Linked DNA regions of Homo sapiens: regions 2, 3, 4 and 5 are each linked to region 1. The links are contacts of gene promoters, found by promoter capture Hi-C in human tissues and cell types (Jung and others, 2019). All regions are on one chromosome and are shown on one strand. Each heading gives the region's core, a stretch centred on a gene start or on the middle of the fragment in contact. The rest is flanking DNA. Distances are from core to core; before and after follow the strand shown.

Region 1 (4,654 bases), core at 1,505-4,004:
TAGGTACACAGTATAGTACTGTTCGCCCAGGCTAGAGAATAAAACAGCTAGCATTGTACCAGGACGCCTGTGCATCTTTCCATTAAAGCCATAGCAATATTCCCTCAAACACATATTCATCACTACCTTTTAATGATTCTGGGCTACACGGATGAAAAGTTTTGATTTAGTGCAGGTTAAAGTAGCACATAGTCTTTCATCTTTATTCATAATCAGCTCTGATCCCCTTGCTGAAAAAGAAAGAAATGCAAACATCTTGAACTCTTCAATGGGCTTTTCTCTAATTAAAGCCTTTAACAATTTTGGGGTGTTTCAAAGCATGACTTCCTTTTTACCATTGTTAGTGTTAACTAAAGAAATATTGCCCAATAAGCACTCCAGATAATATACTCAAAAAATCATCTATAAAATGCAATAAAAATGATTGGGGCAGAAGAACACTGCATCCTTAATTTTAGTAAGATTGTTGATGATAACCAGAGTGAAGCTGCCTAAGCAATCACTCAAAAGCACATGTAATAGTTAAACGCATCTTTATTATGGTTGCTCAGTGTCTAAAAGTTTGTTGCCAGTAGCATTGCTATTAAATGTATAAGGCTGTCAAATCTATTTGTGGCCAAAAAAAAGCAACTCTGCAAGATAAATATTATTTAATGATTTAATAGGCATACGGCACTAGAATATAAATACCCATAAATACCCCAAGTCATAAAAGTAACAGAAAGTAAAAAATAATTTAGGCTAAGACAAAAAAAGACTAGAATTGTTTAGTCAAGAACGAAATTAGTAAACCACATACATTTACACAGACACAGTCTCTCTTGCCACAAAATTGCAAAGTGGTCTACTTTTATTTCTAAAATGTGATATGCTTATATCATTATTATAACCTAAATGTTTAAAGGGGGTATAAGAAAAAGCTTCTAAAATTATTACGGATGCTACTAAATCATGTGTATAACAACCAAAATATCTGGAATGCCCAAACGTGCTGTCATTGCTCAGGACAGAATAATCTATTCAAAACCAGCAGGGAACACGTGAGGAGGCCTCATTTACTTCAGTGTGTTTCCCCACATATGCATCATTTGAGAATGTCAGATCACTTTCACGTATATAGTACATAATCACTGATGATCTGGGAAATCCACAAGGCCACAAAGTTGATACATACTCTGATCTAGAGGGGGAAAAAAATCGAGAAAGCCGGAAGTTTCCCGTTTTCCAAGAAACTGAAGACATTCTTACCTTTCTGTACACCAGCATGTTGGGTGATTCATCGGCCACCCCGTTGCTGGTCTGCCCATAATTATTCCCCTGGGCCATGTCACCCAAAACTTGGTCCACTCTCAAGATACAAGAATTATCAGTGTGCCCTGCAAAGGGTCAGAGAGACTTCAGTGAGATCCCAGTGGGACTCCCCTGATTCATCATCATCATTCACAGCACCCACCCCACATGGCGCGTTCTTACAAACTGGGGCTGGCTGGAGAAAGTGACACAGGACATGGATTTTTTAAAAAGTGAGTTGACACCTACAATAACCTCAAGGAATTGTAAGAAATTACAATCTTCCAGGTAGAAATAGCCATTTGGTTATTGTTTTAGCTGACTTCATTTTCTGGATACTCATTTTGAGAAGTGTTTGATGCTCACCCTAAAAACTCGTGGGTAGCATTTTCCTAGTACAGAGTTCTCTTCTCTCCCAATACTTGCATCTGAACTTGGTGATGTTTTCCCCAAAGGGTGGAAAGGCAACACCTGGGGGATGCGGTGGGGGAGTGGGGGGCGGGTTAGCACACTTTCTCCTAGGTATCTGTCTAGTGTCCCCACCTGCAGCCCATCAGAGAGGCCCATTCCCGGTGTCATTCTCCAGCGCACGGGCTTCCTCTCTATTCCCCCGGGTCTCCCACACAGAGCCGGAGTATATGCTTCGCCTACTTTCACCTGCCTGCGCTGCCAGCCACCGGCTGCTCTCCTTTCTCCCCACTTCGCTTCGGAAGTCCGGAGGTAATCCTGCCTAATTTTTGCAAGAAGACACCAGAATATGTCCCGGCAACAAGAACTAGTGGGAGGTCAAGCCTTCAGGCCATTTTACCCGGGTCACCGTGGGTAAAAGCCTAACTGCAGAAGCCTCCAGAGCAACCAGCCAAAGAGGAGAAAACAGGCAAGCCCCTGCTCCCCTTGCTCGCTCTCACGGCAGCAGCAAATGGCAGGCGAGCCTGTGCCCCGCGCCGCGGCGGCCGCCGGAGCCGGGCAGCAGTTTCAGCACCGTGGACCGCGGGGTGCGCGCGGCGCCCGTAGCCCAGCCCCGGCGCGGGGCTCCCGGGGGCGGCCGCCCTGCGCCCGCGGACGCTCCCGCTGCGCAGAGCGAGGGCTGGGTGCGGGCCGGGGGCCGGGAGGGCTCTGGGTGGCGCTGCCTCCTCCCCGCCCGCCTTCCCTATTTACCTCCTCCGCCAAGGTCACGGCCCCGCGGCGTCTCCCCTCCCGGGCGGGCTGGGTGCAGGCGGTGTCAGCTGGCGGCAAGCGGAGCAGCGAGGCAGGGTAGCTTCATCACACTCGCGGCGGATGCGGATTCCGCGCCGCCCCGGCTCTAGCTGCTCAGGCGACCGCCACCCTCGCCTCGCCGCCGCCCGTGCACAGGCGGCTCCGGCAGCCGCCACTCGCGCCCGCTCCCCTGGGCCGCCTCGCTGGCTCTCTCCCTCCTCCGCTTCTTCTCCCGGGGACTGGGACCAGCCGAGCGCGCGCGGGAGTCGAGACGCCCGGCCCGTGCGCGCGACTGGGAGGAGGGAGGAGGGGACAGTCACGTGGGACAGGGGCGTCCGAAGGTGCCGGCTCGGATGGGCTCGGCTCGGCCGCCGCCACACCGCCCGGGCCTCCCGGGCCTCCCCGGCCTCCCGCCCTCGCGCCCCTCGGGAGGCTGTAGTCCTGCCCCCGGCGCGGCCAGCCCGCGCTCCCGCACACCCCGCCCGCTCGCCCGCGCGTGTGTACGTGCGCCGGAGGCCTGGAGAGACCGGAGTTTAACGCCCAGTGTAAGCCGGAAAGGGAGGAAGGCTGTGCGATGGGTGGGTGGGTGGTAGGTGGGTGGGTGGTCTAGTGAATGGATGGACAGATGGACGGACGGATGCACGGATGAATGGATGGATGGAGCCCCGTGCAAACCAAGGTTTCATCACGTGCCTAACGACTCCGCTGAAAGTCCCAGGGAAGCAGATGATTTATTATTATTATTATTATTATTATTATTATTATTATTATTATTATTATTATGCTTAAATAACAGAGTAGAGAGATATTGAGACACCCTAGGAATGAAGGAAATGGCCAGGACCAAATGAATCATTCATCCCCGTTTGCCTGCGGTTTTCACAGCTTCTTCCTAAGTTGGAGAAATGGGAAACGATTTGAAAGCTGCCAACCGGAGGTGAAAATCTTGCCACTTGTGAAACTGAAGGAACATCCCCAAGGCCTGGCTTCTCCTTTTAACAGAAGGTGCTCAGAGGAACTTTCCTCTTGCCCACTGCCCTCATCCTCTAGCAATTTTCAAAGAGCTTCTGAGGTGCTGATCCTCCTAGCTATAGTCTTCGTACTGCTGCCACAAATTCTTCTGTAAGGATTAGAATGACATAAAGGAGACAGATCACTTTTGTCTCGGTGGTAGTAAAGCAACCTGTGCCTCTGGCTTTCAGGGGGAAGGGCTGGGCCGCTGTAAATCTAGTTTTCCTTCCTCTCCTGGGCCAGCTGTGGAGGAGAGGGAGGGAGAGAAGGAGAAGATAATCAAGATCAGCTGTAAATCTAGTTTTCCTTCCTCTACTGGGCCAGGTGTGGAGGAGAGGGAGGGACAGAAGGAGAAGATAATCAAGGTCAGCCTTTCCTGACCCCTTGGTCTAAGCAGACTAGACCTTATTGGAGATAACACTTCTACTCAAACAGGGGTCCATGTGGACCAATGTATTACCCCAGCCCCATGCAGGTCTTGTCAGGTTTCTCTCAAGGAACAAATATTTATCTAACCTAGCCCCTGTTCCAAGTACTACAGGAGAAATATCATTGTCCCAAACTACACACACTCTAGTCTGACCTGTCTCCCACTCCAACTCCCCACATCTTTCCACTGTAGCCTCTGGAACTTAGAATCTTCTTCAGCAAAATTCTCTTCGTTTTCGACTTCTCGAAATATTTCTTTAACGTTTTTGCTCTCGCTGAAATCTACTTATCCCTCCTTTAACCCCTCTCTCTTCCCTCTTGTTCAGTCTGCTCCTGAGAAGTTGATGTGACTTGCATGACTTGGATTAATAAATTTGCAAATACAACTGGGTATGCTCACTCAGTTTGACCATTTTCCTCTTAAGAGAGAACCGCCTGAAGGAAGCAGTCTTCCTCCTCCTTTGCATCTCTGGGTAAAGTTTCCATCCTCATAGGAAGCTGTACCCAAGCTCTATATATAGAGAGCCTATATATATATATAGCTCTATTTATCATATATATAATTGGCTCTATTTAATTTATATATATAAATTATACACACACATAAACATACATATATATAATATCTCTTGACACCCTTTCCACTTATTGCCACCCTATTTTCCTTCTTCCCTTTATGCCAAAATCTTTCCATTCCATGTTGAACCTGTTCCACTTTGGCAAATGA
Region 2 (4,654 bases), core at 646-3,145, 56 kb before region 1:
AATGAGTATCACTACATATCCAGCATCTTTTGCAAGAAACAGAAAAGACTATGAAATCTAATCCACTGTAAATTTCAAAATATAGTGTTAATTTTCATTTTTGAAATCTATTTATGCTTCTATTTGCAAATCAATAGATAACAACCTGGTACGATTACATATGAGCACGATGGAGAAGTCTTTCATTTTAGTCCTTAACTGTCACATTAAAGCATCATTTAGGTACTCTCGTCCCAGTTTTATTAGGCCTTTAAAAAAAAAAAAAGGCTGGGCACAGTTGCTCATGTCTGTAATCCTTTGGGAGGTCATGGTGGGAAGACTGCTTGAGTCCAGGAGCCTAGGTAACACACAGATACCTCGTTTCTCCAAAAAAAAAAAAAAAAAAAAAAAGTAAAAATTAGCCAGGAGTGATGGTACACACTTGTAATACCAGCCACTCGGGAGGCTGGGGTGGGAAGATCGCCTGAACCCAGGTTTTCAAAGTTGCAGTGAGCCGTGATCACGCCACTGCACTCCAACCTGGGTGATAGAGCAAGACCATGTCTCAAAAAAAAAAAGACAATTTTTTGGGCAGTTTTAGGTTCACAGCAAAATTAAGTGGAAAGTACAGTTTCCATATAATCCTTGTCCCCTCCCCAACCTACCCCACTATCAACACCCTGCATCTAAGTGGTACATTTATTACAATCAACAAACCTACATCGCTACATCATAATCACCCGAAGTTCATAGTTTACGCTAGGGTTCACTCTTGGTGTTATATATTCTATGGGTTTGGACAAATTTATAATGACATATATCCACCATTAGGGTATCAAATATCAAAAATCAAATCCTGTGTTCCATCTATTTATCCCTCCCACTCTTCTTAAGCCTTAGCAACCACTAATCTTTTCACCATCTCCATAGTTTTGCCTTTTCCAGAATGTCAAATAGTTGGAATCACATAGTATGTAGACTTTTCAGATAGACTTCTTTCACTTAGCATGCATTTAAGGTTCTTCCACGTCTTTCCATAGCTTGACAGCTCATTTCATTTTAGCATTGAATAATATTCCATTGTCTGGAGGTACCACAGTTTATCTATTCACCCACTAAAAGACATTTTGGTTACTTCCAAGTTTTAGCAATTATGAACAAAGCTGCTATAAACACTTGTGCACAGGTTTTTGTGTGGACATGTTTCCAGCTCATGTGGGTTATACCAAGGATTGTAATGTCTTGACTGTACAGTAAGAGTATGTTTACTTTTGTAAGAAACTGCCAAGTTTTCTTCCAAAGTGGCTGTACCATTTTGCATTTCCACCAACAATGAATGAGAGTTACTGTTACTCTACATTCTTGCCAACATTCAGCGTTGTCAGTGTTTTGGAGTTTGGCCATTCTAATAGGTGTTAATGGTATTTCATTGTTAGTTTAATTTGTAATTCCCTAGTGAGATATATGTCAAGCACCTTTTCATATTCTTATTTGCCAGGCCTTTCCTTTTAGCCATATCTATGCCAAAGCCCAAGTCCCACTGAATCTTGCACAACAGAATAAAAACAAGGTCTTCAATGATGAGTTAGTTGTGATTTGATTTAATCAATGAACCAGCCATGGTTTTCACATTCTACCCTGCAGAGCTACTATTCCTGGGTCACTGAAATAGCTCATAGCAAATACATGCTAGAGCAAAGAAAGCTGTGTGGAAATGTAAAGTAATGCAATGACTGGATAATTTAATCAGCATTTACACCCATGCACCTTAACTACATATATGTAAAAGCATCAAACGAGTTCTCAAATTCCCTGCTTAGGTCATGACACTGAGGGGTTCAAATAGAATCATCAGTGTTTGCTTGAAAGTCCACAAAGTAAGGAGATTTATTCTTGATTGAAGTTTTCACAGCATGTTACCCTGAATATTTAGGGATGATGGTTAAGGGTTATGGAGGTCAAGATGAACTGGTAGAGAGAGCAGCATGTTAAGTTGTGTAAGTGTTTGCTGAAGGACAATGGGGAAATGGAGTGAGAGACATTCTGCAAGTGTGCCACAATTCAAAAGAACCAGCATCCTCATTAAAAATTGTGAATTTATTAAAATAATGGCAAAGTTATTTTGGAAGTAAACTGATCTAACTATAATTCTTTTTCCTCTTGAAACTTATCAATTTTAAGATACTTACAATAGTGTAATCTCTTAAAAGTTTTCTACCTCTGCACTTAAGTGTAGAAACAAGCTTATGCTGACCTTTTGAATAGAATCTAAAGCAATGTGCATTACCTTTATCAATTCTAAAAGGCATTTCCAACAGCTCAGTCTTCCAAAAATATACTTTAAATGTAGTAGTTAGTGCAAATGATATATCAGAAGTATCGAGTAAAGAAGAAAAATACTATGACATTCATAGATGTCAAATATGTTAGAAAATCATCAGCACTGTGGATCAGGAGTTCTGGGCCAGAGCTGTGGGCAGAATGGGACATTAAATGGGGCCCTTATTAGGAAGTTGACATCTGAGCAAAGACTTGAAGAAAGTGAGGAAGTAATATTCATGGTTTATCTGGGGGAAAGTATTCTGAGCAGAGACAGCAGCCAGCGTAGAGGCCCTGAGGTGAGAGCAGGCCTAGCACATTGCAGGAACAGCAGGAGGGTGAGTGGAACAAAGTGAAGGGGGAGGATCAGCTGCAGGCATCTTAAAACTTTGGCTTCGGCCGGCCGGGCGCGGTGGCTTACGCCTGTAATCCCAGCACTTTGGGAGGCCGAGGTGGGTGGATCATGAGGTCAGGAGATCGAGACCATCCTGGGTAACACAGTGAAACCCCGTTTCTACTAAAAATACAAAAAATTAGCCAGGCATGGTTGCAGGCGCCTGTAGTCCCAGCTACTTGGGAGGCTGAGGCAGGAGAATGGCCTGAACCCGGGAGGCGGAGCTTGCAGTGAGCCAAGATCACGCCACTGCACTCCAGCCTGGGCAACAGAGCGAGACTCTGTCTCAAAACAAACAAACAAACAAACAAAAAACTTTGGCTTCTACTCAGATAGGGAGCACCTTGGGAATTTTCAGTAAAACAAATTACTTTGAAAAATTTTTCTTATCATACAAAATTTTAAACATGAGCAAAGTAGAGAAAAATGATAGTATACTCTAGTGTACGTATGATTCAGTCTCAAAATTACTGATTCATGGTCATTACTGTTTCATTTACACTCTCTACCCTACCCTCACCCCAAATCATTTTGAAGAAATCTTCTGACGTCATGTCTTTTCAACCATAAGTATTTCAGTAGGGATCTCTAAAAGACAGGCATTCTTTTCTTTCTTTCTTTCTTTCTTTTTTAACACCACTGTAATACTATTATCACGTCCGGTAGCGGTTAAATCAGCTCATACCTGCTCAGCCAAAGAGAAACTGTGTATGCCACTCTTCCCACTCACGGACCCATGACTTCATGAACGTGGCTTGAAATTAACCATGAAGGGAGTGTATACACCATGAAAATCCACAAATACTAACAGCAGGGCTTTTATTTCTAGTAATAAAATTGTTAATTCTTTACTATCTGATATGGTTTGGATTTGCGTCCCTGCCCAAAGTTCATGTCAAATTGTAATCCCCAGTGTTGTAAAAGGAGCCTGGTGGGAGGTGATTGGTCCATGGGGGTGGATTTCCCCCTTGCTGTTCTTGTGATAATGAGTGAGTCCCCATGAAATCTGGTAGTTTAAAAATGTGCAGCACCTCCCACTGCTCTCTCTTCCTCCTTCTCCAGCCATGTAAGATGTGCCTGCTCCTCCTTCCCCTTCGGCCATGATTGTAAGTTTCCTGAGGCCTCCCTAGCCATACTTCCTGTATAGTCTGCAGAACTGTGAGTCAATTAAACCTCTTTTTCTAGGTGAATTACCCAGTCTCAAGTAGTTCTTTACAGCACTGCAAGAATGGACTAATGCACCATCACACCTCTGACTCACACGTAGAAGATTAACAATGCTTACTTAATACCATTAGATGTCTACTCTACACAATGGTCATATTTCTTTGGTAAACCTTTTTTTCAGTTTGTATGTCTGAATAGTGATCAAAATAAAATCTATACTCTGTGACTGTTTGATATCCCTTAAATCTCTTTGAATCCATAGGATCCCCAACATCTCTCTTTTTTCTGGCATTTGTTTTTATTGTTGTTAAGGGAACTGGGTTGTTTGCCCTGTGGAGTTCTTCACAGTCTGCAATTGCTAATTGTATGCCTATGGTTTCATTTAACATGTTCCTCTGTTTCCTATAAATTGGTCATTAGATTTAGTGGCTTGCTAAGATGCAGGATTTATTTTGGGGGGCAAGACTTCTTCATAGGTGCAGGTGGTGCACGTCCATCAGAAGGAACTGTCATGCTGGTTGTGTTTCATTTTTGTAGTAATAATAGCCTACTGATGATTCTTTCAAAATGATAATATTTTGCATTCTATCACTTATTCTTCATTTACTATTTTAAATACATCTATAAGAGAAATTTATATTAATCAATCATTTGGCTAATTTACACTTTATTTTATTAATTTTTTGAGAGATGAGATTTTGCTACGTTGCCCAGCCCGGGCTCAAACTTCTGAGCTTAAGTCATTCTCTATTCTCCCTGGCTCAGACTCCCGAGTAACTAGGACTACAAGCCTGT
Region 3 (4,654 bases), core at 788-3,287, 53 kb after region 1:
TTATGAAAAGTGAACATTTTTAATAATTGGAAAGGCCCAGGCCATTCCAAATCTATGATTAACTCATCAGCTACACCAGAGATTGAAAATGCGTATGTCTACAAATGCCAGGAAGATATCATAAAAGAACAGAGTACGTCTGGTATCAAATAATAATAAGTGGGTAAGATCTAGGACAAACTGGAGATGAGATAGCCTATTAGAATCATCTGGAAATAAAAGCCCAACATAGCCCAATATTTTAAATGTTTTCAAGAGAAGACAAGTCCATATTTTAGGCAAAATTCTCTCGATTTTTAAATGTTGGTAATGAGAAAGTGAAAAGTGGCTCTGCTGACAACCAGATAACAATGTTCCCAAAAGATCACAAATAATGCTCAAAACAACACAAAGATAAGTTCACTCCATAGTTACGTTTAGAGAAAGACAGATAAGGCCACCCTGTGACACAAACATGACTCAATATCCCCCTCTTCTGACTAACATCACCAGTGTGAGTGGATACTGCTTCTATAACAATACCTCTAAACCCACTTTAATACTCTCGCCTCTTAGATAAAACTCATTCAGATACCCTATCTCTGCATTGACCTACCTTCTTAGTATAAGTAAAGGAAGATACAATGTATCTTGGAAAGTATAGAAGGGTTTGTCCTAAAAACTTTTTTTTTTTTTTTTTTTTTTTGACTGAGTCTCGCTCTGTCGCCCAGGCTGGAGTGTAGTGGCGCGATCTCGGCTCACTGCAAGCTCCGCCTCCCGGGTTCACGCCATTCTCCTGCCTCAGCCTCTTGAGTAGCTGGGACTACAGGCACCCGCCACCTCGCCCGGCTAATTTTTTGTATTTTTAGTAGAGACGGGGTTTCACCGTGTTAGCCAGGATGGTCTCCATCTCCTGATCTCGTAATCCACCCGCCTCGGCCTCCCAAAGTGCTGGAATTACAGGCGTGAGCCACCGCGCCCGGCCAAAAACGTTTTGTAAAGATAGAAGTTTGGGCTGATTAACAAGAAATAATAGATAAAGTGAGTAGAAAAATTAAGAATCAGTACATATATGATCCCAGACTTGCTATGGGAAGGAGGTGGTCTGATTCACCTCCTACCTTCTTAGCGGTCTGAAATCTAATACTAGTCTCCGTGTCCTAATCCCTCCTCAAATCATCTAACATAAGCCCCAACGCTAAAAGACCCCTTTAACAACTCCCTCCTGAAATGCTCCTGGGGTTTCCCCAAAGTGAGACCACTCTTTCTGAAACAATATAAGTAAAACTATTTTTTTTTTTCACTACAGATGTGTTCCTGGTAGTCTCTGATCCACTGGTTTGACAACAAGTAATTTAAAAAAATTTTTGAAAACACTGACCTCTGAGCTAGATCTAGGCTATAAACATCTACCTTTTAATCTCACTTAAGGTGTGATGGTTAATTTTATGTATCAACTTGACTGGGCCATGAGGTGGCCAGATATTTAGTTGAACTTTATTCTGGGTGTGTCTGTGAGGCTGTTTCTGCATGCAGTGAACGTTTACAGTGGACCGAGTAAAGCAGACAGCCCTCCCTTACGTGAATGGGCCTCATCCAGTTAGTTGAAGGTTTGAATAGAACGAGAAAGTTGAGTATGGGGGAACTCCTTCTGACTAACTGCCTTCAAGCTGGGACATTGATTTCCTCCTGTTTTTTGGACTTGAATTAAAACATTGGCTCTTCCTGGGTTTTGAGACTTGGATTTCAGACGGAACTATGTCATTGGCTCTCTTCGCCCTCCAGCTTAATTGTGTGAGCCAATTTTCTACAATAAATCTCAATCTCTCTCTCTCTCTCTCTCTCTATATATATATATGTATCTAAAATTTAAAATATTTTAATTAATATGTTCATCAAATTTAAAAATATTCATATGTATTTATATATTTATGACATATATGACATCTATATGTCTACATTATCTCTCTCTATATATATATATATGTCTCCCTATATGTCTATATCCTATCGGTTCTGTTTCTCTAGAGAACTGTGGCTAATACAGAAGCAAAAGGGTGATGTAATATCAATGGGCAGATTTTCCCATTTTCTTACATCATTTTGTGTTTTCTTTCCAGTAGATTAAAGAGGGGTGGAAAATTACAAAATCCAGTGCATGCCACTTAAATTAAAGTTGCGACCATTTTTATTCGTGCCAGGAGGAAGGACTTTATTCTCCTTGATTTGAGCAAATCCATTATCGGAGCTTTCAATTTCAGGCATTCCAAATTTAGGTCCACTTGAGGCTGGGATGACTGCTATGTCTGAGAGGGCTTCTTTCTCTGCAGCTTCTTAAAATGCAAGAACAGAAATCAGGAAACATTAGAGAGACCAACAAAATGATTCAGATATTTATGTAGGTAACTAAGATGCTGTTGCTTTTCTTGACTAGAATTTCATTATAGCTTCATTAGGCAAAGAGACTCTATTCCTAATAGTGCATCTGATCAACAGAAATGCAACTAGCAAATCAAAAAATGTATGAAAGACAAATAAATGGCTTCCCAGGCTGAGAAGAGCCAAACAGGTTTAACTGTGGGTGATTTTGGAGGCCTGGATAGTGGCTTCCCTGAATCCCTAAGCCTAACTTTTCTCTAATTTACCAGAAGTGAGAAACAAATGCATACCCAGACGGCTCCTCTCAACAGCAGGCACCCAAGCCTAAACCCAGATGGTTCATCACTATGAATGACTGTTCTCGTGCTTGTTCAGTAAAAAGACAGAACACGAGGCCCGTGATATGATCAGCTGCACATCAACTCAGACATGCTTCTACACAGGATACCAGGAAGGTGAGGGAGTTGTACTTCTGCTTCTTCCATCTACGGTTGCCAACCTGCACTAAGGGATGTTTGCTAGAATGAAGCTGAGCTAAAGTAGAGTGTGTCTTGCTGGAGACAGGTCCTAGTCTGCCCTGAGGGTCTTTTAGCTAAGAGAGCATTGCTGCCCCCTCCTTTGCCTTATCTATCCTTTTGACCATTGTTCCTGCCTCTGAATTGCCATTTTGACCCCAGACACGGTCACATTCTTCTGCCTCCTCAACTTGTCTAGGCACCATACCCTCTACCTTCTAAACCTCACATTTGCCTCCTGGACTACCACACTGCCATCTCCACCAATTCAGTTACTGCTTCCCAAAATAAGAATATTTGACCTTCTTCTCTTTTCCACGACCTCTGATTTTACTTGGCAACCAAGCCACGGTTTGTTAGAATTTGGTCACGAACAAGTATTTACACAAAAATTCAACTTCAGGGAACTAAACATGTTTTAGATGGCAAGGAATCTAGAAGTTGCGAGTCAGTCCAGAGCTGATGAAACTGCTCAAGGAAGTCATCTGGAACCAGATTCTTTCTAGCTTGCTTCTCCTCCATCATCCTTAGCTTGTGGTTTCTGTTTTAATGATCTCCAGGATGACTACTCTGCACCCAAGCAAATTTTAATTCCAGAACAGAAAAAAAAAGAAGGAAAAGAAGAGAGAAAGGATGAAGGACAGGTAAATGAAGCAAATGCTACCTGGCTACCTGGCTGCACCTACTAATAATGCACTTACCCTGCTCCTTTTCAACCATTATTTAATATTTAATCAGGAGCAATACTAACCCCTATTCAGAAAGGAGAACAATGGAAGTCACATAGGAGAGACAGTGCCAAAGTCAACACCAAACACCGCCAGGCAGGAAAACTCAGGACTCCTGTGTTCTGTCAGAGGTGCTGTCCTCGGTTACCCATTCTGGCATCCTCCCGTCCTGCTTCTGGGGAGATTATTCCTTGTCTCTTTTCATCCATGGCCACATATGAAATGGGTATTATAGAAGATCACTTCCTTTGAAGCCACAGATATTTTTGGCCCACTTCCTATTGGTCTTAATTTGAGGAAAGGAATAACCTTAGAGGTTTAACAATGACAGGCTCTTATTAGCCTCCGGCAATACAATGTCCTCAAAAGTTTACAGAATTTCCAGTGTTGGAATAATTTCTCAATTAATTCCATATGTGAATAACCACAGACAAAGATTTCACTTAGATATGGTATTTAGCTAGAAGATTCCTTTCCTTTACCTTCTGATATGGTTTGGCTGTGTCCCCATCCAAATGTCATCTTATACTGTAGCTCCCATAATCCCCACACGTTGTGGGAGGGACCCGGTGGGAGGTAACTGAATCATGAGGGCAGGATTTCCCTTGTTGTTCTCGTGATAGTGAATAAGTCTCACGAGATCTGGTGGTTTTATAAGTGGGAGTTCCCCTGCACACGCTCTCTTTCCTGCCACCATTTAAGATGTGACTTTGCTTCTCCTTTGCCTTCTGCCATGATTGTGAGGCCTCCCCAGCCATGTAGAACTGTGTGAATCCATTAAATCTCCTTTATTTATAAATTACCCAGTCCTGGGTATGTCTTTATTAGCAGCGTGAGAACAAACTAATACACCTACTGATCTCTGGGTTGTTCCCGGTCCTCTGTTCCATAGCTTAATGGCCAATGCCTTGAGGTCATTCAAAATAATGATGGAGAGATAGCAAGTGTAATACCACTGTGCATTTGTCTAAAGAAATCCAAAGAGCCTGGATGGAAAAGTCTTAAGTTACCAATCTATGAAGGCTCCAGGCTTCCTGTCACTGTCCTTGCCTG
Region 4 (4,654 bases), core at 1,161-3,660, 36 kb before region 1:
CTATCACGTAGATGACATCAAAGAGCTCTCCACTGTAAAAAGTCATTTCTTATATTTGACATCATTTTAAAGTATTCTATGTGCATATATGCCCTTGCCAGCATCTAAAAGGCTTCTATCCTGAGAAATTTCTTTCTTTTTTCTTTTTTTTTTTCCCAGACAGAGTTTCACTCTTGTTGCCCAGGCTGGAGTGCAATGGTGCAATCTTGGCTCACCACAACCTCTGCCTCCTGGGTTCAAGCGATTCTCCCGCCTCAGCCTCCCGAGTAGCTGGGATTACAGGCATGTGCCACCATACCTGGCTAATTTCTTATTTTTGTTGTTGTTGTTGTATTTTTAGTAGAGACAGGGCTTCTCCATGTTGGTCAGGCTGGTCTCGAACTCCCGACCTCAGGTGATCCACCTGCCTCGGCTTCCCAAAGTACTGGGATTACAGGCATAATCCACCATGCCCAGACTATCCTGAGAATTTTCAATGTAGAGCTATTGTTTTATAAGCAAAAATGATCAACATTTATATTTTAATCATTATAAAGCAATACATATTCGATTTGCTTCATTTACAAAAGGCTTCCTGGACTTAGCCCTTTAAAAATGCACGACACTTAATTTTTTTTTAACAAAAAAGCAGAAAAAGATGATCAAACGAAGGATACTGATCCATCAATTACTCCTCAGGAAGACAGGTGGATCATGTGTGATTTTTCAAATGTTTCACCAGATTGTTAAAATGATTAAATGAACAACCTAAGCTCAACTTGAAATCCATACAGATGTGATAGCACCATAACCATTTCTTACCCTCTGGACACTGTAGTATGGTTGCCTCTGGCATCTTTAACTTGGTTGGCTGATAATATTTAATATAAAAATCTTCATGGGGTGTCAATAAATGTTAGCTTTCTACTCCCTTTCTACAATAAAAGCCATTAAATCATGATTTATTACAAAAATGTGACTTGACTGATTTTCCCATGTTATACATCCATGAAATGTAAACATGAAATGCTAATATAAAAGAAAAATACAAGAATATAGATTTTACTGTTAATGGTGCCTATTAAATGTTGGTATAAAAATACCCTAAGAAAATGCAACAAAATATTAATGGTGGTAGTGCCTTTAACTGGAGGGATTAAAGGTGATGTTTCCAAGTTTACATAATGATTGTGAAATACTCCTGGGATAGAGAAATAAAATTTTATTAAAAATATTATTATGTTTAGAGTCAGGGTCTTACTTTGTCACCCAGGCTGGAGTTCAGTGGCACCATCATAGTTCACCGTAACGTCAAATTCCTGGCCTTAAGTGATCCTCCTGCCTCAGCGTCCCAAAATGCTGGGATTACAGGCATGAACCACCATGCCTGACCCAAAAGTTTATTTTTAAAAACATAAATTTTAAAAAGATAACATAATCATATCTCACTTCACTCATTAAACATATTCTAGAAAATGTTTTATAATTTAATTTTTGTTTTTAAAAAGTTCGAAGGCCGGGCGCAGTGGCTCTCGCCTGTAATCCCAGCACTTTGGGAGGCTGAGGCGGGCAGATCACGAGGTCAGGAGTTCGAGACCAGCCTGACCAACATGATGAAACCCCGTCTCTACTAAAAATGCAAAAATTAGCTGGGCCTGGTGGTGTGCGCCTTTAATCCCAGCTACTCAGGAGGCTGAGGCAGGAGAATCACTTGAACCCGGGAGGCGGAGGTTGCAGTGAGCTGAGATTGTGCCACTGCACTCCAGCCTGGGCAACAGAGCGAGACTCCACGTAAAGAAAAGAAAAAAAGTTTGAAAATGTCCCAAAGAAGCTAACTACTCTCCCTGTGTTTTCCCAGCCATGCTGAATTACTTGTAGTTCCCTGAAGCATCATGCTAATTCCAACTCTGTGCCCTAATAGGTGCTGTTGCTGATATATTAGGCCCCTTGCTCTATGTTCCTCATGTAACTATGAGTTTTCCTTCAAAACCTTCCCCAGGAACACTTTCTGAGTTCTCCACTACAATATAAATGCTCATCCTTCGGAGAGATCCCTCAATGAATTTATCAACAGTAAGCACTATCACACTATAATAACTGTGGAAAGTGATTTAACAAAGCACAGTGCCTTCTGAATAAAGAAATGAATGAATGGATAAGCAACTTTGACACTCCCATAACTTAAACAAATGGTTGACCTTTTTGTTTTCTCTCACTTAAGTGACTGGCTGTTTGACTCGAGTAGTAAAAACAAACTAGGTGTCTTGACACCCTAAAAAGGGTGAATGTTATCTACATAAATTCAATCTATACATTTAATTAAATAGTATCATTCAATAAGCATTAACTGATGGCATTGTAAGTGCCAGGTTTGGTGTTAGGCACTAGAACATGGAAAGGAGGAACAGTGCTTCTTTCCTCAACAAACTGAGACTAACAGGAATAGTCAGGCAAATCCACAGTTGCAGTAGTGTTATTAAGTGCAGTGTTGAAGCATGCACTTTCTGTAGCAGGAACAAAAAGGGGTGCTGTGGGGTGTGGGGACAAGCCTTCTTGGTTCCAACACTGTGTTAAACTAAAATGTAGTTGTATTTACAATACAAAGCTTAATAAAGGCTGCACTGGACAATTGCCTAATATCATCAATGTAAATACCCAATGTTATGTGATTAGAATGGGCATAAAAAATAACAAAATCTGCTGTTATTAACAATGATTCCCACTGGAATATTGGAAGACACACTGACTATCACTCACTACAGAAAGTATAGAATTGGAAAAGATAATTTTATGAAGATTTATAAACTTTTAAAACTGGTGTGAAAGTATTATTTCCCAAATTCAGTTTGTAGCTGGGGTGGGGCGAGTAGGTAGTATAAATTTCTTCTTAAATTGTATCATGACAGAGAAGTGTTCTTTAGGATTCCATTGTTGTGGACTAACAAAGTCACTTTTAGATATCTCAAATTTGAACTTTATTGCTCTTCCTATCTTCCAAAGAAATGCACTGAAAAATAAAATGGTCTCTCTACAGAAGAACCAAAAAGCACAAGCAGTTTTTTTTATCCTCACAGCTTTCTGTTTTCAAGCAATTTGGAGTCCCCAGGCGGATTCAAACTCGATCCCCCTTCCACCTCACTCGGGCTCTATGCACTCCCACAGATAACGAGATTGGGTGAGCACATCAGATTCACTTTCCAAAGGCACACTGAAAAATCTTCATGCAGATTAAAAGATTTTTTTAACTATTTCAGCTTCCACATCTTCCAAACTTCTCTTTCTCAAACCATAGAACACTATCATTTGTGCAGAACAACATGAAGATGGGAGGTTATGGTTCCTTCAATTATGTCTGAGAATTAAGACATATGTTATATATTTACTATGAACCTTAAAGAATAAACTGCACCTAGATCTAATAACCATAATTCTAAATAACCTTCTATAATCTATTATATACATAGTAGCCAGATAGACTTCTAAAAACATAGCTCAATCAGCGCTCAAAAATGTGGCACTGATTGACAGTGTATAATTCTCACTCATTAGTTGTGGAATAAAGTCCAAACCGCCGTTCTAGAATTCAAGCTCCTCACAAACTGGCTCCAATCTGCCTTCATTGTTGATTAACCACATGTCCCTTGCAAAATCTACGCTCCATCCCCAAGAGACTCTGTGTTGTTCTCTGAGCATTCAGAGAACTCTTCCACCTCCATGTCTGCCCTCTCACGGTTTTTCCCACTTGACTAACCTTCCTCCCATTTCACCTATTCAAACCTAACTCATCAGAAGCCCTCCTCTCTGAAGCCTGTCTAGATTATCCCACCTGAGAGCAATGTCTCTGTCCTCTACGTTCTCACTCTGCTGGCATACATGTCTCTTGCCACCTCTACCACATCTTGCTCACCTTTGTAAGTAAACCTCACCTTGCTCACCTTTATAAGTAACTGTTGTTAGCACATACTAGGTGTACAACACCACACCTATAAGTGAGTGGCTGAATCTTTTTACAAAATGATTCAGAAGGCATCTCAGGATTATTTCATTTCTCCACATAATCACACATATCGACTACCATTATTTGATAGATTCAGAGGTTGCAAGATATTGGTTGACTATATATTCACTCTTTAACTGATACTAAAAGTTGTTTTAGCCAGTTAATCTCTAATAGCAGCTTATCTGCCACTTATTTGATTCTCATATAAAGAAAGAGTATTAAAAATCTGATGTTTGAATATCCTACTTACATAAATTCAAGAAAAGCAGGGGTTTAGCATATCTGCCACCCTGAATTCAATTATCTACTGCATGTGTTGTCTCTCATGTGTAACCTGGGCCTTGATGCTAAGCCACCCCTCAGAGATTCTTTAAGTTCCAATGTCAGAAAATTTGAGGGTCCTATGGCATAGAATGATAAGTACCAACATGGTTACTACTGAAGATGTTAGTTTGGAAATACTTTTAGATCATGGAGTGCTTAAGTGCTATACAGTCATATCACCAATAGCCTTACCTTTTCCACAAGATTTTTTTTAACAAAATGTAAAATACAGGTACTGTAATTCATGAATTCTCACATAAAGGACAAATAAAAATAGGATCATGAATATTGCTCAGACTTTGAATTTTTATACTGTAATCTAAGAATACTCTGAAGGACACAAATCAAATT
Region 5 (4,654 bases), core at 1,426-3,925, 34 kb after region 1:
TTCTGTGAATGGAGACACCGTGGAAGTAGGGTAGGGATTAAGAACCCACACTTTGGGCCGGGTGCGGTGGCTCACGCCTGAAATCCCAGCACTTTGGGAGGCCGAGGCGGGAGGATCACAAGGTCAGGAGATCAAAACCAGCCTGGCTAACACAGTGAAACCCTGTCTCTACTAAAAATACAAAAAATTAGCCGGGCTTGGTGGCGGGCACCTGTAATCCCAGCTACTCCGGAGGCTGAGACAGGAGAATGGCGTGAACCCGGGAGGCGGAGCTTGCAGTGAGCTGAGATCGCGCCACGGCACTCCAGCCTGGGAGACAGAGATTTGGAGTCAGACCTCATTAAGTTTGGATCTAGCTCCTTTACTTTTTGTCTGGGTGAACTTGAGCAAGTTAATTAACCTTTCTTGGCTTCAACTTCCTGTTGTCTTTAGGATTCCGCCATGGGCATCTTGAAAGGCTCTCCAAAGGGAAGGAACATGATCCATGACTAGATCCAGTTTTGAAATGACCGAGGAGCAAAGAATTTTAGGGGTAAAAATCTACTTTATATTGTTTCAACTTGCTGTTTCCATGATGAGAAGATGTTAGTCCCAGCCTTGTCTTTTGAAAGTTTAAAGGAAACCAATCACACAGGCATTGTCTCTGCTGTAAAAAGTGCTGCACTTTTTCAGCCTTTTTCAGGTGATTAATGTGATCCTCCACTTCTGAGAGACACGTTCTCTCTAGGGCCTAGACATTACTGACACAGGCCATTGGGGAAAAAATGACTAATTCAGGCAAATATAAATGCTCGCATTAACCTCTGATGCTGTCATTTGTGCTCCAAGTGCCTGGCTCAGGAGGTGAACAAACGGCAAGAACAAATGAAGGGTACTTTCAAAATTGAAGTCACTTTATACTGCATTTTATTTAAGATTTTTGTGGCAGAAAAGCCATTTTAAAAAGGCATATGTAGGAGCTGGGTAACTGCCTGGTCTTAATGAATGTGACAAACAGAATAGCTGTCACCAAGATTGTATTAGGGAATGGCATGATTTAGGATCAAAGGTGAAGGGCTCCTCGAGGTCATGTAGACTGAAAGCTTCATTTTATAGAAAAAAATTGGCCCTGAGAACCAGAAAGCCAATGGTTCCCAGTTTAGCCATTTCTATTTACCTTATTATTCATTTCCGAAGTCTGCCATAACAAATGACTGCAAATATGGTGGTTTAAGCCCACAGAAACTTATTCTTGCACAGTTCTGGAACATAGAAGTCTGAAATCCAAGGCTAAGCAGGGCCATACGTTTTCTGGTCTTTAGGGAAGAACTCTGTTTTCAGCTTCTGGTGGTCCCAGGCCTCTCTTAGCTTGTGGCTGCATCACTCCAGCCTCTGCCTTTATCGTCACATGACCTTCCCTCCTGTCTATTTCTCTGTGTCCTCCACGAATCTTTTAAGAGCACCAGTCACTGGATTTGGGGCTCACCCTACATCCTGGATGACTTCATCTTAAATCATATCTGCAAATACCCTATTTCCAATTAGATCACACTCTAAGGTTTCAGATGGACATAAATTTGGGTGTACACTATTCAATCCACTACAAACCCCATGGCTCCTCCTTAACACAAAGGGGTCATTCCTGGATCTAAGGGAGCAGGTATGGATTCTGCACCTCTCCCAATGCCTTAGACCATAATTTATGCATAGATGTTGAGAGTCATACTGCCTGGATTCAAAGTACATTGACCCTTAATAAATAAATCATTTCAAAGCTTCAGTTTTCTCAGTTACAAAATGGAGAAAATACAGCCCTCCATGTGGGAGCCTCATCAGGTTGCAGCGAGAACAAGGTGGCATAATCCACATGGACCACTTAGCCCAGCATGTGACCCATGACTAGGGCTCAATAAATATTAGCTGCTACCAATCAAAGCCAGCACTGATGCTTTGGAAGGGTTTGCATATCATACAAAATAAAATTCAATCATCCTCCAGGCTACGTGGGAAGCACTGTATGGCAGCTAGCTAATTATTCCCACCCACCCATCATGGGAAAAGCCCTGACCTCCATACCAACAATTTCAATGGGGCTTCCTTTGTCGGCTTCTACCTGAGCTGTCTGGCGATTCGCAATTTTTCAGATCTGAGCCAGATTCACATTTGGAGATTAAGCTCCAGTATCTAGACTAAGCAGAGATGCATAGTAATGGACAGAGATGTCCAAGATAAATAACTCTAGAACCTGAGCTCAAAAAGCTGGTAGCTTTCAGGAAACTCTCAAAGTCTCTGAACTGACTGGCTGGGTCTTGCCTGAAAGACTAGCAGAAAAGGGAGCTGGGACTGGGACCAGGAAGACAGAGGAAGCCAAGGGTGGACCCTGACAGTGGCAGCTTGAAGTCCAATTGCAACATCTTAAGGAAAAGCACAAGGCTGTGGGAAGGAGAGGTAAGGTAAGGAGTTATCTATTGAATCATGCGGTGGGGGGCATACCTGCTCTAGTGGACACTGTGGGGCACTGCCCAGATCCACCTTCACAACTGAAGCACTCATTCTCCAAGCCCTTGGGGAATCAGCTCTCAGGGAATCTGCTTAAGCTAAGGAGAGCCACCCAGCCCAAGGTCACACGGCCTCCCTGGAAGCAGCTCACATCCAATGTCTGGTCCATGGTGGAAAAGCATAAAGGCTTGGCCATAGGCAGGATTATCCTGAGGACTCATCTAATCTCCAGAGCTCTTACAGCGTCAGAGGAGGTTTCCACTGTCACTGCATAACAAGTCTTAATTTTCCCCTCCCCTTGAAGGTGTCAATATTGAGAACAGCTCAATAAAACTCTTACATGCAAATTGCCATCTCATCATGTTTCTCAGAAAACCCATCCCAGACACCTACATTCACAAAATCCCTGAAAGACGCTGTTCTATCAATCTCATTTTCCTGATGAGAAAATTGAGCCTCAGAGATCAAGCAATGTCCCCAAAGACATACAGCTGGTAAGTGGCAAATTCTGATTTTAAACTCAAGTATGTGCAGCCCCAAAGCCCATGGTCTTTCCACTTTAATCTCTGCCTTCATTGAGTCAGTCACTAAGAATAAAGCAGAAATTAAACATTCTCAGGATGAGAAAATAGGAAGGCAACCACTGTGTTATATGGATGACATTCCCTTTGTGCTCCCCCTGGCTTGCTTAAAGCCCTGTGATTATAGTTGTGGTTATTTTTCTTGTTATCTCATTCAGCGCTGGTTACTAAATGTTTGTTTTCTTTTATTAGCCCACTGTATGCTTAGGACCAGGCTCCAGTTTCCTAGTTGTGTTTGCCTAGCTCCTTATAAGCTTGAGCCATCTGTTCCTCTCGAAGTGGACAGGATGACATTTTTTTCCCCAGAGTTTACCTACTTTGTATTTTATAAGGGAAGCCAAACTAGGTGATTCATTGTCCTTCTCCTCCTCTTCTTCTTCCTCCTCCTCCTCCTCATCAATAGGAAAACACTGAGAAGCAGCCTTAAGGAACAACACAGTGGTGATATCAAGGGACTTGAAATTATGTCACGTGCTATCGGCAACCAATATATGATGTTTGGATTGAGAACTATGATCAAAGTGAAGCAGTGGAACTTTGCAGTTAATCAAACAGGAATTTTGAACCAAAAACCCACAAATGTGTTTCAACACACTTGAGCTACGTAATCTTGGGTGAGTTACTAAACTGCTATGTGCAATTTTCTCACCTGTCAAATGGAGCTAATAATAGACTTACTATTTTGTGTGTGAGGATTTGCTGATCTATATATAAAGGTTTTAGCACAGTGTTATAAATATAGCAAATACATACTTAAAGTTATCTGTTAATGCATGGAAATTAGAGGTGAACGAAGTTGGGCTCTTTATTTACGAAATATTGTATGTTGTTTAGAGCAATTCAACCTGGGATAAGCTGAGTTCCAGAGGCAGACAGGTGTAAGAGAGCTTCTGACATGAACATTGCAGGCAGGCAAGATAATCACTAGCATCCATTCCTTCCAAATATTAACATTATATTCCCTCAAAGGTTGTGACATAGTTGGATTTCTTGAGACCTCTTCTCAGAGAGACAAGAACTTTGTTGTTTAAATGATCCATCAAGATCAGCTTAAAACAGCACCTGTAGTTTTGTGGTATCCCAAACTCTGAATCTGAACAGATCATTTATCAGGAAAGTCTAGAAAGATGTTTCATTTTGAAGTTTAAGGATAAATTATTGAATTGGCCTCTGATATGGGTGACTGGTTGCTCAATTCAATAGGACTGGCTGTGTAAACATATAACAGGCTTTCAGAATGTTTGTCCAGGGTGGGATAAAAAGGGTAACTATTAATCCATCAATTCCTGTCCCCCAGTGGTCAAATTTTTACCCAAAAAGGTGGCAGCTCCTTGCACTTCCAGGTTGCATATCTATGGGCACATTGTGACGTGGAGAGAGAAGTCTTGGGTCTGGACACATAAAAAATGTATAAATAAATCCTGCAAATTAATAAGCAAACATCAAACAACCCTGCAGAAAATTGGGCTAAATACTTGAATAGGCATTTCACAAAAGGAGATATTTAAATGGCCAGTAATCATATGAAAAAGTGTTCATCATCATTTGTCATCATGAAAATGAAAATTAAATCACAAAGAGATATGACTATACAA

What was found. The method cuts DNA at HindIII sites, captures the fragments that hold promoters and counts their contacts. A contact is called where the count stands out against the background at its distance.
Region 2: a contact is called between a fragment that was not itself captured here and the fragment with the promoter of RGS7 in region 1, in 2 of the 25 tissues and cell types used here (aorta and dorsolateral prefrontal cortex).
Region 3: a fragment that was not itself captured here is called in contact with the fragment with the promoter of RGS7 in region 1 in 1 of the 25 tissues and cell types used here (dorsolateral prefrontal cortex).
Region 4: a contact is called between a fragment that was not itself captured here and the fragment with the promoter of RGS7 in region 1, in 1 of the 25 tissues and cell types used here (ovary).
Region 5: a contact is called between a fragment that was not itself captured here and the fragment with the promoter of RGS7 in region 1, in 6 of the 25 tissues and cell types used here (dorsolateral prefrontal cortex, mesendoderm cells, neural progenitor cells and 3 more).

The regions. Positions count from the first base shown.
Region 1 is chr1:241,354,451-241,359,104 of GRCh38, forward strand. RGS7 (regulator of G protein signaling 7) reads right to left here and starts at 2,755. Exons shown (of 19, transcript NM_001364886.1): 1 at 2,449-2,755; 2 at 1,249-1,376. The coding sequence starts at 1,326. LOC124904601 (a long non-coding RNA gene) reads left to right here and starts at 2,802. Exons shown (of 2, transcript XR_007067052.1): 1 at 2,802-3,032; 2 at 3,373-4,654. RefSeq lists a silencer at 2,607-2,656. The HindIII fragment of the contact is 13,432 bases long and covers 1-4,654 here.
Region 2 is chr1:241,299,569-241,304,222 of GRCh38, forward strand. The region is part of intron 2 of RGS7 (regulator of G protein signaling 7); the gene reads right to left. Among named protein-coding and RNA genes, the nearest start is that of RGS7, 55 kb to the right of the region's middle. The HindIII fragment of the contact is 6,377 bases long and covers 1-4,654 here.
Region 3 is chr1:241,407,919-241,412,572 of GRCh38, forward strand. No RefSeq gene overlaps it. Among named protein-coding and RNA genes, the nearest start is that of RGS7, 53 kb to the left of the region's middle. The HindIII fragment of the contact is 6,683 bases long and covers 1-4,654 here.
Region 4 is chr1:241,318,318-241,322,971 of GRCh38, forward strand. The region is part of intron 2 of RGS7 (regulator of G protein signaling 7); the gene reads right to left. Among named protein-coding and RNA genes, the nearest start is that of RGS7, 37 kb to the right of the region's middle. The HindIII fragment of the contact is 8,539 bases long and covers 1-4,654 here.
Region 5 is chr1:241,388,863-241,393,516 of GRCh38, forward strand. No RefSeq gene overlaps it. Among named protein-coding and RNA genes, the nearest start is that of RGS7, 34 kb to the left of the region's middle. The HindIII fragment of the contact is 5,447 bases long and covers 1-4,654 here.